2 separate regions of the Homo sapiens genome follow, and region 1 is linked to region 2. The links are contacts of gene promoters, found by promoter capture Hi-C in human tissues and cell types (Jung and others, 2019). All regions are on one chromosome and are shown on one strand. The core of a region is centred on a gene start or on the middle of the fragment in contact, and the rest is flanking DNA. Distances in the headings are between cores, read along the strand shown.

Region 1 (3,553 bases), core at 653-3,152, 34 kb before region 2:
TAACTATTTGTAAAATGAAACACATACTTCCATACAGTATTCTTGGACAGACAGCACTTACGTGCAGATACAATTTAAGTTTAACTTCTCTGTTTCTAAGTCAAATACTTCAGAAGAACTCTTATAATTAGGGGTAAATGCAAAATATAATAAATAGATCATTATTAAACTCCTCATGAAAACTTCAATTTTTGGAGAAATTACTCTTGAAAATGAGTCCAAGTTACAGAAAAGAAAATGATGAACACGTTAGTAATGGGATGTAACAAAACAGGGATAGCACGTGGCTTACTCAATCATCTCATCCTACTTTATTTTATAGATGAGGAAGCTGAAGCCTACTGGTCCTAAAGGTACAAGAACATCAGGTGAATGAACAGATGCTAATCTAATTGCTTTGTACCTCAATCCAAAGCTTTTTGTTTCATGACACCACATGGCATCTTCTTTGTTCACCATGATGTGGAGGTGCTGAGGGAGCAGGACAGAAAGCCTGTATTTAGGAGGTAAAATCAGAATATTAAGCAAAACTGAAAACTCTAGACTTACTCTGTTTTGGAGTACAAATATCCATGTATTCAAGGGGAAAAATAAGTAGTAAAGAATGCTAATTATTCTGATATCATTTACTAGTTATGTCCGTATTAGGCTGATTTTGTATAATTTGAATGAGAAAGACCCATGGTGTTCTGAAAGTGCTTGAAGCATGTGTATTGTGGCCATGCATGTTGTATTAGTTAGTTTTCATGCTGCTGATAAAGACATATCTGAGACTGGGCAATTTACAAGAGAAATAGGTTTATTGGACTTACAGTTCCACGTGGCTGGGGAGGCCTTACAATCATGGTGGAAGGTGAAAGGCACGTCTCACATGGTGGCAGCAAGAGAGAGAATGAGAGCCAAGCAAAACAGGTTTCCCTGTATCAAACCATCAGATCTCATGAGACTTACTCACTACCATGAGAACAGTATGGGGGAACCCGCCCCCATGATTCACTTATCTCCCACCAGGTACCTCCCACAACATATGAGAATTATGGGAGTACAATTCAAGATGAGATTTGGGTGGGGACACAGAGCCAAACCATATGTGTAACATTTCCTACTTGCCCATATATTTATGTGTGTGTGTGTGTGTGTGTGTGTGTGTGTGTGTGTATAGATAGATAGATAGATACTCATTCACTGATGGAGTGAGATGAGGAGAATCTGAAATGTGGAAATACTTTTTTTTCTGCCTATAGTGGCTAGAAATCATCAAGTTTAGATATCTAGGACTTCAACCTGTATTTTTATACTGGTATTTTTAAGAGAAAATAAATAAAATCAAGTGGCTTAGATAAAATTGGACTACTGTGGTAACACCTTCCACAACTAACAACAGTTCACCTTAATCAATCATATACTTTTTAATGAAAATATTCTCTTTTACAGCTGATTCTCTATCTTGGAAATGAATCCCCCAATATTTATTGTGTGGAATATCACAAATAAAATTTCTCATATTTAGATCAATAATAATGGTAGTTTACTTTCAATATGGACAATTTGCCTATAATAATCCTTTTGCTTCTTAGTAGGAATTCTAGTTAATACTCATTTTCATATCATGTAGTTTGTAACCATTTCAAATTAGTAATGACATTTCAGTTGAATTTGAGAGCCAAGAAACATTTTTCATAGTAGAACTAAATACCTTCAACAAAAATTTTCTATATTTAATTCTTTGGAAAAATAATCTTAAATATTTTAGGTATTTTATTTTTCATCAAAAGTATAGAATATTTATCCATTTGTACAGAACATTTATCCTGTGCTATGTGCTGAATAAAGAAAATGAAAAGGATGTGAGTTTTTTCCTCTAAAATATTCTGACAAGTGCTAAGAATCTGCTATGATAATGATGTGAAAAGCTGTCTTTCTGCAATTGATAGAAATATTAAATGGAAGTCAATTAAAATTTAGAAGTTCAGCTTTTAGAAATTATTTTGAAAGAAAATTTGATAAGCACATTTATTCACATATTCATTCAACTCACCTTCCTGACTTAGGAAAAGAAAACCAAGAACTTTTTTGGTTGGAAAAGGAATTAGAAATTGTTAAAAAAAATCAAGGAAAATTTAATATATTTGTTAATAATGAAAACAACCAGAGTTATCACTGCTTTATTGATGAGATAACCGAGCATTGCTTTAAAGCCTGCTCTCCCTTCAACTAGCGAACCATACTCACTAACGTATATATTTTCCTGTCCCTATTTGGCTTGCATTGTCACACTCTTTCTGATATCAACAATATTTAGTAGAACTGATCTTTTGTTTGTCCAGTCTTTCTATGCATTGGATAGAAGATTTGCTCAGTTGTTAAAATTCAGATCATAATGCTCTATTTTTATACATGTATTATCCTGAAATTTTACATTTTTTGAGCAATCCAGGAATTGCTTTTTAAAAGTTGGCAGTGCTGAGTTACAGAGTAAAGGAGATCTGACACCAGATTTATTCATTTCTCACTGATGATGAATTGACTGATTCATTTATTTACTCATTCACTCATTCATTTATCTATTTTTTTGAGTGTCATACTTTCGATGTCCTCTACCTAGCAGTGAGGATATGATGCAAAATAAGATATGGCTGTAGTCTTAAGAAATTTATATTCTTCTGTTACCTTCTGGCCTCCACAGCAGTGAACAATATTACTCAGTGCTCCAAGAATCTTAATGATACCCTATTTTCTCCCATCCATTATAAATCATACAGGTTCTAACACTTTATACATATTATCACTAAAGTTTAAATACAGTAAAGATACAAATACAAAGTTTAAATACAGTGAAGTTTAAATACTGTAAAGAGTATTAATATTGCCCCGGCTTCCAAGACGGCCAAATCAGAACCACTCCGGTCTACAGCTCCCAGTGAGATCGACGCAGAAGATGGGTGATTTCTGCATTTCCAACTGAGGTACCTGGTTCATCTCATTGGGACTGTCTGGACAGTGGGTGCAGCCCATGGAGGGTGAGCTGAAGCAGGGTGGGTTGTCACCTCACCTGGGAAGTGCAAGGGGTTGGGGGATTTCCCTTTCCTAGCCAGGGGAAGTTGTGAGTAACTGTACTGGAGGAATGGTACACTCCTTCCCAAATACTGTGCTTTTCCCACGGTCTTAGCAACTGGCAGACCAGGAGATACCCTCCCGTGCCTGGCTTGGCAGGTCCCATGCTCACGGAGCCTTGCTTGCTGCTAGTGCAGCGGTCTGAGATCAACCTGGGACTCTGGAGCTTGGCAAGGGGTGGGGCATTCACCATTGCTGAGGCTTGAGTAGACAGTTATATGCTCACAGTGTAAACAAAGCAGCAGGGAAGCTTGAACTGGGTGGATCCCAGTGCAGCTCAGCAAGGCTTACTGCCTCTATAGATTCCACCTCTGGGGGCAGGGCATAGCTGAACAAAAGGCAGTAGACAGCTTCTGCAGACTTAAACATCCTGCCTGACAGCTCTGAAGAGAGAAGTGGCTCTCCCAGCATGGCGTTCAAGCTCTGATAATGGACAGAC
Region 2 (3,623 bases), core at 1-2,500:
TCATGGCTTATTATAAAAATTTCTTTACTGTTTTAATTTGTAATTTTCCATTACTTTTTATTTAAATAATCTATATTTATCTTAATATTGTGTATTAATTTGCTTTCCTTTTTTGTTTTTCAATACCCTCTTGGTAAAACTAGTGTGTACTTTTACAATCGAAACATAGAGTGTTTAGAACAAGTTTAGGTCTCCACGATGATTTTGCCTCCACTGTTTTCTCCTGATAATTATTTGAAAGAAATACATTTCACCGATAGAATCTAATTCTCAGAGTGATTATAAATGCATTGGTAATGGATTGAGTTGTATTAGTAGTATGCCAGAATTAGATTTGTTTCCTCCATTATTTAAATGAAATCTTAAAGTATTATGAAAATAAATAAATTTTCTTAAAGCAATTCTGTCTGTTTACATATATCTGCATTTAAATATGTTTCTTTATTTTATGATATAGCATGTTACATAAAATTTAGTAAAATTTGGAGCAATTTATATTTTAGTGAGCTTTTGTTGACCACAGCACACAAATTTCTTGTCCTTTAAAAAATTCAAGAAATTTGTGCATAGTTGTGCTTAAGCATAACATAAAAGAATAAAAAAATTCTACAAAATCAAGATTAACAATGTTTCAGATAAACCTTATAATAATCCACACCTGGCTTCAGTACAGTTAACAAAGGATGGAACTAATAATTTGGTAATGCATGATTTTTGAAACAAATAATTCAGCTATGTCTGATTTTATAATATGTTTTTATCTAAACATATAAAATGAAAAACATTTAAAATGAAAATATACACAAAAACATAAAATGAAATAATATACTTTAAAACTGTAGCATTTCCTCTGTTGCCCAACTTAGAAGATTTATTTATATAAGGAGTGACTCTAAGTTTTGTTTTAAATATAGAAAGCCAGGCAAAAGAATATGTGTTTGTTAGTTTGTCTTTTTTTCTTAGAAAAACCTCTGTTAACACTCCCAGAAGTTCTACCATTGAAATCAGCATCTGCTAGTGATTTATAGCAAGCCAATAGTCTTGTATTTATCAACTATTTTATAGAATCTCATACTTACAAATATATCCTGTCGAGCAGTCCACCATGCTAAATTTGATCTCCTCTTTGTTATGATCCGTTTGAAATCAGGTTCTGAAATTTTGTGAGACACCCAGCATTTTATTTTTCCCAGAGTAAAAGGATTTTACTGTCTCTATAATTACCTTCGATGGCACTCTGGCCTCAGTATGAATGTTCTGTTTTTACACACACGTATCTATGCAAAGAGAGGTTTTGTTGAATATGGAAAGTAGTGCTGTAGGACTCCAGTGCATTACTGATAAAGAGGTTTTATCTAACATTATCAGACCATCTGAAGTGATCAGATGATTGGAAGCAGCAGCTTCATGAAATCTTCAAAGTAATACTCAAATCTTTTTCTCCAAAATAATTTTTCTAGTTTTAGAAAATGTATAGTCTAAAGTAAAATTCCCTTTTAAAAAAGACAGAGAACTGAGTACAAACACATAGGACATCACTGCAAACACATGTTAGCAAATGGTTGAGAACTATTAAAATCAATCTGTTTGTAATAGATTACTAGGGACTTTTAACAACTGAAGGATCTAAAAAAGTATCTTTTCTAGTTATACCTCTCTAGTTCCTTCAACTGGTCCTCTACAGCAGTTCTGGACTCCGTTGTTCTACAGTTTGTTAACATGCCTTCAAAATCTGAATTGAACACAGTGCTTAAGATAAGGTCTAATGAATACAGAATATGGTAAGATTGTGAATGCCCTTGTCCTGGATTTACTCCAATTGTGTGTGTGTGTGGGGAGGGGTGGGGGAGTTGGGGGGTTTGGGGGGAGAGAGAGAGAGAGAAACAGAGAGGTAGGAGTAAAGAAATGCTAGAATAAAACAGCAGTAAAGAAGATCAAAATGTGGTTGATGGAGTGTTTCTTAAAATATTTAGGGGCCCAATGAGATAGAAGATTAACCTTACTTGTCTTTTATAATTTTGAGATTCAAACCCAAGAAAATTGAATTTCTCAAACCTGAGAGATAAGTTTGGGACTAGAAAAGGAAAGGAAACTTTGGAAAGTCAGAAGCTGCGTAGATGTAGCAATAATGTAGGAAGTGAAGGGCAGGTTAGCCTCAGCTTGGGAGGATCTGGGTTGTTTGTGGATAGCACTCATTTTCTCTGGGTGCTAGGTGTGCGATTTCCTCCCCACTCAGGACATTTTGGATGCTGGATCTCTTCAGGAAATCTTCAGTGTCATAGTCAAGACTTTTCCTCACCCCAAATAATTCATTTTTTTGGGATTTGGAATGTTTGCTCTTTCTCATGGTGTGGATGCAAGGAGCTGGCAGGAAGATTCTGGAAGTAACACCCTGTGCGAGTGTCAGTTTCAAAGCTTGTTTAATGGAGTCAAACATGAGAATCTCCCTACAGAGTAAAACTTAAGTATCGACAGGGACTGAAAAACAAATAAATCATAGAGTGAAGAGTAACAGCACGAGTAGGTGGAAATTCCTGGAGGAATTCAAGAGCAATGTGTAGATATTTGTGGCAGATTTCTAAACATGGTTTTGTTTCTCTGAAAAAGTGTAGTTCAAGTTCAGTTTATGAAATCATAGCAATATAATGCTTTGTACGGCACATAGGTGGATCAGACTAATTCAGAGCTGTCAGGTTAGGGCAGGTAACAGGATTATGCTTTCGTTGGTGCAGCTTGGGAATGCCCTTTCCATTGAAAGGCTGTCCTTCTGATGAACTGATCTGCTTACTCTAGAGCACTTTTACTATATTTCAATTTCAGCCAATGTAAGTCCAAAGTAACACAAGTTCAAATGTGCACAATTAAAAATCTTTAATATTTTTATGTTGAAAGTTCAAAATGAACTTTACAAGAGCAGAAAAATGAAGTATTAGAAATTATAAATTCAGAATTTGCCATTTATGTCTTCTACAAAAAGTGGAGAAATATAATTACTGGTTAATGTTCGTGATGACAGCTTAAGAAATAAGCCTACTATTTTCAGTGCATCCTATTTATACTATATAGTGTTTGCCATTTGTTCAGAGGGTGGCTCTTTTCAATATATTCTAGAAGCAAGATAAACTCTTGGACACTGGGGTGAATTGTCTGGTGAAATGTATCCAGTAGGCAGTGGTTTGTGCCAGTGTTTGGAAGAAGACTGGCTTCTGCTCCTGCTTTCCATGGACGCTGATCTGTCCCTCTTAGCCTTTCAGGTCTGTCCTCTCTGCCTTCATTTTCTTCCAAGCTTCTTTGCAGCGCATTCTCAGTCTGTCTTCATACACTCATTGTCCGCATCTTGGAGTGGACGACTCAGAGACTTGACCAGTCTCCCGTCCCCTCTGGTTTGCTGCCAATTAGAAACAATCTAACTTTGGTTTCTGACTTGTGTGAACCCAAAATATACCGACAACAAAAATTAGGAAGAGATTACTGAGCATTGAACACTATTGTTAGCATAAAATAAACCTCAGTAGCAATTAAAGTTAGTTACCAATTCTGTGTGCATTTATTCAGATGATTTGCTTTAAAGATGTCTTTAATTATAATCATGGTCCTGTTATGCTATAAAGTTTAGTCACTAA

The links. Contacts are between HindIII fragments. The study calls those that stand out against the background at their distance.
Region 1: a contact is called between a fragment that was not itself captured here and the fragment with the promoter of RGS13 in region 2, in 1 of the 25 tissues and cell types used here (adrenal gland).

Annotation. Positions count from the first base shown.
Region 1 is chr1:192,668,418-192,671,970 of GRCh38, reverse strand. No RefSeq gene overlaps it. Among named protein-coding and RNA genes, the nearest start is that of RGS13, 34 kb to the right of the region's middle. RefSeq lists an enhancer at 3,213-3,553. The HindIII fragment of the contact is 3,894 bases long and covers 1-3,553 here.
Region 2 is chr1:192,633,774-192,637,396 of GRCh38, reverse strand. It overlaps RGS13 (regulator of G protein signaling 13), which reads right to left and starts at 1,250. Exons shown (of 7, transcript NM_002927.5): 1 at 1,080-1,250. It overlaps LOC107985241 (a long non-coding RNA gene), which reads right to left. Exons shown (of 2, transcript XR_001738348.2): 2 at 2,847-3,388. The HindIII fragment of the contact is 6,655 bases long and covers 1-2,851 here.